Regions from separate parts of the Homo sapiens genome. Here region 2 is linked to region 1. Evidence: promoter capture Hi-C in human tissues and cell types (Jung and others, 2019). All regions are on one chromosome and are shown on one strand. Each heading gives the region's core, a stretch centred on a gene start or on the middle of the fragment in contact. The rest is flanking DNA. Distances are from core to core; before and after follow the strand shown. Region 1 holds the start of RPAP1 (RNA polymerase II associated protein 1). Region 2 overlaps RTF1 (RTF1 homolog, Paf1/RNA polymerase II complex component).

Region 1 (4,526 bases), core at 845-3,344:
CAGGTGCCTGTAGTCCCAGCTACTCAGGAGGCTGAGGCAGGAGAATGGTGTGAACCCGGGAGGTGCAGGTTGCAGTGAGCTGAGACTGCGCCAGTGCACTCCAGCCTGGGCGACAGAGCGAGACTCTGTCACAAAAAAAAAGGAAACCTACTGAAACAGGCCAGGTGCAGTAGCTCATGCCTGTAATCCCAGCACTTTAGGAAGCTGACGTAGGTGGATCACCTGAGGTCAGGAGCTCGAGACCAGCCTGGCCAACATGGTGAAACCCCGTCTCTACTAAAAATACAAAAATTAGCTGGGCATGGTGGCGGGCGCCTGTAATCCCAGCTACTCGGGAGGCTGAGGCAGGAGAATCACTTGAACCCAGGAGGAGGTTGCAGTGTGCCGAGATCATGCTATTGCACTCCAGCCTGGGCGACAAGAGCAAGACTCCGTCTTAAAAAAAAAAAAAGAAAGAAAAAGAAAAACCTACTGAATCAGAAACTCAGAGGTTGAGGCCCAGCAATCTGTTTCGTTTTGTTTGAAACAGAGTCTGGCTCTGTGGCCCAATCTGGAGTGCAGTGGTTCCATCTTGGCTCACTGCAACCTCCGCTTCCCAGGTTCAAGTGATTCTCCTGGCTCAGCCTCTTGAGTAGCTGGGACTACAGATGGACACCACCATGCCCTGCTAATTTTTATATTTTTAGTAGAGATGGGGTTTCACCATGTTGGTCAGGCTGGTCTCGAACTCCTGACCTTAGGTGATCTGCCAGCTTCAGCCTCCCAAAGTACTGGGATTATAGGCATGTGCCACTGTGCCTGGCCCCAGCAATCTGGTTTAACAAGACTTCCAGTTGATTCTGGTGCCTGTTAAAGTTGGAAAGCCACTGGACTAACATTGGCTGCCCCATGATGTCCTTTGGTCTAGAAATGATTTACTTAAGGTCCTACTATGTGCATGGCAACACGTTGGGTGCTCAGTATTTAGATGCAAAGTACAAGGTCTGGTGCCCACAAGGAACTGACAGTCTATTCAAGGGAACAGGACATAAGCCTGTGAAAAGGTAACCGGTGACAGTTGGTAGTTGGCAGTGTGTTCTTAGCATACCACACAACTGGTGCAGGCGGTGAGATTCCAGGTGAATCCAAGGAAAGTTTGGTGAGTAGGCGTGGCTGGCAGAGGTTTTAGAGTTGACGCCAGCTAGGCCTTAAAGAGTTATCCTTTGGAGACAGGGGTGGCAGGGAAAAGAGGGAGGATTTCCAAGAAGGGAGAGTGGGATGAACAAAGGCAAGATTCTGGAGAAGATGATAACCTTGCTAGCAAGGAAGCTTTATTCCCTCTCTTCTCACCACCACTATTTCTGCAGTGCACACTGGCAGTGTTCTTTCCTTGGGCCTTTTTCATGGTTACCTTCTAGCTCTTCCATAAACACATTCGTCACGTTGGGGTGTGTGTGTGTGTCCACGTTTCTGTGTGCTGCCGTGGGCGTGGGTGCTGGGATGTGGGATGTGGTAACACTGGCTGGTGAGTGCAGAGGGACGTCTGAGGAACGCTGTGTCCCTGCCAGGGGTGTCGTAAGTGCAGAAGGGGCTGTGCCTGCTGTACATCAGAAGCATGTGTGGGCCAGGCGCGGTGGCACATCCTGTAATCACAGCACTTTGGGGGGCCGAGGCGGGCGGATTACCTAAGGTCGGGAGTTCGAGACCAGCTTGGCCAACATGGTGAAACCCCGTCTCTACTAAAAATACAAAAATTAGCCAGACGTGGTGGCGGGCACCTGTAATCCCAGCTACTCGGGAGGCTGAGGCACAAGAATCGCTTGAGCCCGGGAGGCGGAGGTTGCAGTGAGCCGAGATTGCGCCACAGCACTCCAGCCTGTGCGACAGAGCAAGACTCTGTCTCAAAAAAAAAAAAAAAAAAAAAGGATGTGTGTTCTGGGTGATGGTATAGAGCTTACGTGGGGGTAATAAACCGCCAGCCGCGCAGCACCGCGCTCACCAGTCCGCTGCACTGAACAAGCAAAGCCCAGAATGCTCCGAGATAAGACCGGGAGAGGCGGGGCTGGGCTGCGGGGCGGAAGCTGGAATCTGGCGGCGGCGGAAACGCGATCTCTGCGGGGCAAGATGGCGGCGCCCAGACAGGCCTGGAGCACGTAGGTGGCGGGGCTGGAGGGACGGATTTCAGGTGATCTGGGAGGAGGACCCAGGGTAGCGTGTCCAGTTTCTTTGCTGGAACCTGCCTGCGGGCCTTTGGTCTGTAAGGGAGCAACTGTGGCCTCCTCTGTGCATAGATCTCGGGCACGGCCCTTCAACGGGCGGCGAAAGCTGCGACTCGATGATTCCTCATTGTAGAGTTGGGTGGTCCAGGAGGCTTAACTGGAGCCCTTGACCTGAGCGGTAAGGGCAGTCACGCGTCCCGACTCGGGATTGGATCCTGGCTCTGGAGGATAGGCTGCAATGTAAGAGCCCCAGAGACTCCTCAGAGGCCAACATAAACCCAGAGGTCCATTGTTAGGACTACTTTTTTTTACGAGTTACTCTTTAGGCATTACTCTTTAGGATTACAGGCGTGAGCCACCGCGCCCGGCCAACCCATTCTTATTCTATTAATAACTGAAAATGTTATCACTTCTAGCACTGATTGGTTCTGGACAAATCTGCGCTGGATTTGTGGGGAAACACACTGGTGGCTTTACTTAGGACTAAAATAATTGTTACTGAGGTTTATTTATATAAGTAACAGGCACTGGGCTAGGCGTTTTGCGTGTATAGTCATTTAAATCCTCACACATTTCCTATTATATAGGACCTGTTACTCACATTTTACAGTTGTGGAAATGGGACTTAAGACAGCATAGAGGCCGCGCACGGTGGCTCACGCCTGTAATCCCAGCACTTTGGGAGGCCGAGGCGGGCGGGTCACCTGAGATCAGGAGTTCGAGACCAGTCTGGCCAACATGGTGAAACCCCGTCTGTACTAAAAAAATACAAAAAATTAGCCGGGCGTGGTGGCAGGCGCCTGTAATCCCAGCTACTCGGGAGCCTGAGGCAGGAGAATCACTTGAACCCAGGAGGCGGAGGTTGCAGTGTGCCGAGATCGTGCTATTGCACTCCAGCCTGGGCAACAAGAGGGAGAATCTGTCTCAAAAAAAAAAAAAAAAAAAAAAAAAGGACAGCATTGATAATTTGCCTAATTTCGCACATTTAGTGCATTTAGTAAGTAGCGGAACTGGTATTTGACTTCTGGCCTATTGATTCCAAAACTGGTGCCCATAACCCCCTGGCTCTCTTTGTGATGTAGGTATGGCGCACCCTATGAAGTGAGCTGGACTTTGCTTTTGGATCACATGAATCCATGGATAAGTAGGAATTGTTTCTGCTTATGTAGACTCTTATAGGAGTGAATTGTTACCATACTATGGATTCTCAGTTCATCTAGTTCAGCCTTCCTTAGGGCCTTTGGGTAGGCATTGGGGTAGGAGACTTTTTCCTTGTTTGTTGGTCAGACTGCCCAACAATTAGATATGGTTATCTGCCCTTTGGCTATATAAATAATAAGAATCATAACTGGCGTTTGTGTCCTTTCATGTATGAGACTCTGTTCTAATCTTCTTACATATATATAATTAATTCAGGAGGTAGGTACAGTTATCTTCATGTTACAGATGAGGAAACAAGCACAGTAACTTCAGTAAAATACCTTGCTTAAGCTTACACAGTTAGTAAATGGCAGAGCCTGGATTTGAACACAGGCAGTCCATTTTCATACTGTTTACCTCCCATCCAGGAAAAGGCACATCTGTATACTTCGCTGTTGTCATGCTACAAATAGTAATTAATACAAGTTCTATGCCAAATTTAAGATGAAATTTTGTAGACAGGTCTTTGCTCACTTCATCCACTTCCTTCAGTTCTCTACTTATCTAAGTTTTCTCTTTCAATATTGACCTCTATTTTTAACCTTTAGGGATTTTTCCCACCTCTGAAATCGTGTAGCACTGATCTTCTATGCAATTAATTTCATCACTGGGATGTACTGCCTTGTAAATTTATATGTGTGTTTACCATATTCTCTCACCCCAACTTTGGGTACATCATTGACCAAAGGAAGACCTTTACAATCTTGGAGACATCATTTAAACTGTAAACCTTTGGAATTTCTAGACTTGTGTGGGCAAAGAGAGATAATGAAGTGGGAAATTATTAAAAGACCCAGCATTTCGGCATGGTCTCTGTCTCCCCAGTAAGCCCCTTGAACCCAGGGACTGGATTTTACTCCCATTTCTTTATATTTACAGCCCCTTGTACACCGCTCAGCCCAGAGTAAACTCTCAAAAAATTTTTTGATAATGTTCTTAAGGTCACACCGTCATGTGATTGTTTCACCATTTCTACCCCTTTAGCCTGCCCCCAACCCCTGTGTTGGGAGGTGTTTCCAAGGCTGGCTTAGTTATTAGATCTGATCCTGCTTAGAAGTAGATGAAGAAAAAGTAAGGAAATGTGTCATTCAGCACTTTTTTTTTGAGACAGAGTCTCATGCTCTGTCC
Region 2 (4,436 bases), core at 1,851-4,350, 67 kb after region 1:
GTCAATCTTCACATCAAAATCGTGTACTTTGAACAGATCTTCTGAGAGGTCACTGGCTGACTTAGAATTCAAATCTTTATCTTTGCCTTGACCCTGGAATGTGAAGAGGAAAGCTAATGGTAAGAGCATAAATGCAAGTGGATTTCAAGCAGCAGCAGCCACTAACGGTACGAAGCTCTTATTTGAGTTCATTAGATTTTCCTACTAAGGCCCCTTTCTGATTCCTTCTCTCAGAGGGAGGCCACAGACAAAGAGCTTTCTCTCCTGAAGGCTACAAGCACAGAGAAGAGGGCAGGCTTGTGTCTGTGGTATGAGTGTAGAAAGGGTGGGCTTAAGCAACGGGTCACTTCCTGACCTAAGATTTCAGAAATCCTGAGACCAGTTAGACTACAACAGGAAAAGACTTAACTTGGACAGAAAACTGCTTTTTTTTTTTTTTTTTGAGGTGGGAGTCTCACTCTTGTCACCTAGGCTGGAGTACAACGGTGCAATCTTGGCTCACTGCAACCTCCCCCTCCCAGGTTCACGCGATTTTCCTGCCTCAGCCTCCTCAGTAGCTGGAGTTATCGGAACCCGCCACCATGCCCAGCTATTTTTTTTCTATTTTTAGTAGAGACGGGGTTCTACCATGTTGGCCAGGCTGGTCTCGAACTCCTGACCTCAGGTGATCCGCCCACCTCCGCCTCCCAAAGTGCTGGGATTACAGGCATGAGCCACTGCGCCCAGCAAGAAAACTGCTTTTAAATGTGCCATTTTCAACAAGCTTTCACTTTTACAATGTCTGATCTTTGTATGTTATCTCTCCTCCTGTGAAGCTGGCAGGGTATACAGTAGTACCCTCATTTTACACAGCAGAAAAGGGGATGCTGAGGGCTGGAAGCCAGCTGCTGAAGGACATAGTCAAGGCCCTAGGCAAGTAGTGGTGTCAGGTTTGGAATTAAGGTTGTCTGTTGATTATATCTGTAAATAACTGGGATGGAGAAGGGACTCCAAGAGGGACTCCCTGTTCCTCAAGGTGGAAAAATCAAGCCCAAACTAGACAAGGTACTTGTTCGGTATCTCAGCCAGCAGCCTCACTCAGCAGGCAACAGGGTGGTACCACACTTGCCTTGCTCATTTCCTTTGGAGCATCTGGTAACACTCCAGAACCGTATTTTGCATTCAGCTGGGCCAAGATGGCAGCTTGAACAGCTGGGTCTCTGGACTGAGAGAGAAAATAAGTTGTTTTAGAGATTGCTTGACACTCACAGAGTCCTACTGCCAGATTCTTTCCCACCTACCAAACTAACATCACAAGCACCACAGCCGACCCATCAGCAGCTAGTGGGGTTTTCCTCAAAGCAGCAAAAAAAAAAAAAAAAAAGGCAATTACAAGCTTGAAAGCCAAGCCCAGCCCAGCCAGGCCCTAGCTAAGGGACACATTACTAATGTCTGCTGCACTGTAAACCCACCCTGATACAGGAGGATCAGTCACTAGGTTTTTATAAATCCATGCCACGTTTTCACTACCGATATGTCCTATAGCAAGATAAAAAAGGAAGTATCCAGACCCAAGAGCTTCAGACAAGCAAATCCCAGCTAAGAAAACATTATTTTTAACTTCATTATTAATTTCCTAATGGAATTCATTTTGTGTCCTAGAATCTAGGTCCTGACTAAAATGTCCTCTTTCAGCACTCACATTAGAAACGATGGTAGGCTTGCACTGCCGCCGAGTAAAGGGATCCATCTGTTGGTTTTTCATGTTGTGACTTTCAGCCTGAAACAGAAAGCATGCACCACAGAACTGCACCTCCAGCCCCTCCTCTCATTCACCATAAGCTCACAGGCAAATAAGTCTTTGCACGGGACTGAAAAAAAAAAAAGCTATTATCCTTTTCCTTTTTTTTTTTTTTTAATTTTTTTTGAGATGGAGTCTCGCCCTGTCGCCTAGGCTGAAGTGCAGTGACGCAATCTCAGCTCATTGCATCTGCTGCCTCTCAGGTTCAAGTGATTCTCCTGCCTCAGCCTCTCCAGCAGCTGGGACTATAGGTGCAAGCCACCAAACCCAGCTAATTTTTGTATTTTTAGTAGAGACAGGGTTTCGCCATGTTGGCCAGGCTGCTCTCAAACTCCTGACCTCAGGTGATCCACCCACCTCAGCCTCCCAAAGTGCTGGGATTACAGGCGTGAGCCACCATGCCCGGCTAATTTTTTTTATTTTTTAAATGGATTCTCGCTCTCTTGCCCAGGCTAAAGTGCAGTGGCACGACAGCTCACTGCAATCTCCACATCCCAGGTTCAAGTGATTCTCGTGCCTCAGCCTCCCAAGTAGCTGGGATTACAGGCGTGCACCACCATGTCCGGCTCATTTTTGTATTTTTAGGAGAGACAGGGTTTTGTCATGCTGGCCAGGCTGGTTTCAAACTCCTGACCCCAGGTGATCCACCCGCCTCGGCCTCCCAAAGTGCTGGGATTACAGGCGTGAGACACCGCGCCCGGCATATTATCCTTTTCCCTTCAAGAATACCAGAGTAGATATGGGGGAAACAACCAAGAAACAGAAATTGAGAAAAAACAAATACCTGTGGAGTAGAATCTAAGGGTGGGAAGAGGTAGGACAGGGCAGAAGACTGCTGCTTTTCATTATGAATAAATTATATCGATGTACGTGGACATACAGAGAGAGTGTGTATACGTTAAGTGCCTACGTTATTTCAATAATTAAAAAATAAACTTAGGCAAGATGTAGAAAAGATGTCATGGTTTATTAATTAACTTTGTTTTAGTGATTCAGATAAAGTTTTCTTACCACAAGGGCCTTCTCAGACTCTACAATGTTCCACTCCCGGTTCCGCTGGTTGATGTAACTGTGGGGTAAGAGGGATGAGTCAGTGGCTGTGAAACAAGGGAGGGAGGGAACCACTGAGCCCTGAACTCAGATATCTATGGGGTCAGTGCAGCACAGAGTGTACAGGCCACAGGCTTGCCTGATAATTTTGGCCAAGGTCTGCGGGCCAAAAATAGGCTCCATAACACACCTGATAGCGGATATGTTCTTGGTCCGCTGGCGGTCCAGGGCCTCTGCCCGTTCCTCCAGCTCATTCAGTTGATCTTGGATTTGTTTGGCCTTGTCCTGATCCCCCAGGTCCTCAGCCATGGCCTACACATAGAGAGATGTGTGAGTTCGTTCTTGGCTACATACAACTGACTCCATATCAAGTATCCCCTTACTTCCAGCACAGGCAAAGATATCTCATGTGGTGAGCAAAGGACAGGAGATGTGGAAGAATACTGTAGAAGTACTTTACAAATACAAGATATAATTTATATTATAGTAGTGCACAGTACAGTGGGGAACACCTTCCCATACAGCTACCTGGCTGTGGGTCCCTGGTGGCAGTAGAACCCCAGGCCTCACAGGGTGGCTAAACCACCATAACAAGGCCCACCCCAACCCAGTGTGAAGAATGGAAAATCACCAGCCACAGGTGGCCTTGACAGTGTCATCTGTCTGTTCAGACTCAGTGTTAAATACCACCCCAGGGTCTATTTTATTACAAAGGAAACTGAAGTGACTAGAAAGTAAGAAGACTGGCACACACGCAGAAGATGAGTTTGAATTTAGGGAATGGAAAATGGCCAAGGAACGTTGCCCAGGTGCCAAGAACACACTGTGTTGCTTATAATCGAGCCCAGAATTTTCTCCCAATCCTACCACCACTAACTTGGCAGAGGATGAACAAGTTTGATTTCCACATCTCCTTACAGGATGAGGAAAGAGGCTCGAGTACAACTCCTTACCTTTTCCTTCAGTAGCTGAGTCTTCTTCATAGCGTAGTTGGGTGGAGCTTTTCTGAACCTTTCTTTCTCTTTTACAATCTGTACCAGAGAGGAGATACCAGCAGTGAGGTATTCCTAAGCTATTTTTGTAGACAGGCTAAGTGAGCCCATTTTGGATGCAAACAGCTAGTTACAAAGGGGCTGCTCTTCCTACAGCAGTGTCATGCCCCAGAGAGAGAGAGAGCGGGTTCATTCCAAGGGATACTATGCTGCTTCCTGGGTCACGGAGATTCTTCTGGGACAGGCTGAAGGAACATGCACCAAGAAACAGCAGCCCAAGGGCCTGGTAGTGTAAGGCTAGCCACTGTCCAAGAGAACAGAGATCAAATAATTTTACCAAGATGTTTTAGAAAAGGAAAACTCTTGAAGGATCAAGCCTAGCAGAATACAGACCCCTGAACCCTAAATACACTTTAGTGTATGTAGCCTCATTTGTTGTCTCATCTGAACTCTGAATACACTTCAGTCTATGTTAGCCTCATCCGGACATGAGAATGTATAGAAAAAAGCTTGATGAACTATAAATAATCAGGTAGTAATATTAGTATTCCCTCATTTTCATGCATAGCTAAAAATGTCAAGATATAGGGAAATAAAAGAGAATCATGTTCTCT

The links. Contacts are between HindIII fragments. The study calls those that stand out against the background at their distance.
Region 2: a contact is called between a fragment that was not itself captured here and the fragment with the promoter of RPAP1 in region 1, in 3 of the 25 tissues and cell types used here (lymphoblastoid cells, mesenchymal stem cells and mesendoderm cells).

Annotation. Positions count from the first base shown.
Region 1 is chr15:41,541,825-41,546,350 of GRCh38, reverse strand. RPAP1 (RNA polymerase II associated protein 1) reads left to right here and starts at 2,094. Exons shown (of 25, transcript NM_015540.4): 1 at 2,094-2,132. RefSeq lists enhancers at 1,950-2,339, 2,273-2,854 and a silencer at 3,334-3,534. The HindIII fragment of the contact is 9,616 bases long and covers 1-2,499 here.
Region 2 is chr15:41,475,871-41,480,306 of GRCh38, reverse strand. It overlaps RTF1 (RTF1 homolog, Paf1/RNA polymerase II complex component), which reads right to left. Exons shown (of 18, transcript NM_015138.5): 12 at 3,784-3,861; 13 at 3,021-3,142; 14 at 2,792-2,849; 15 at 1,682-1,759; 16 at 1,109-1,204; 17 at 1-93. LOC105370790 (a long non-coding RNA gene) reads left to right here. Exons shown (of 3, transcript XR_932169.3): 3 at 816-880. Among named protein-coding and RNA genes, the nearest start is that of ITPKA, 16 kb to the left of the region's middle. The HindIII fragment of the contact is 4,062 bases long and covers 1,070-4,436 here.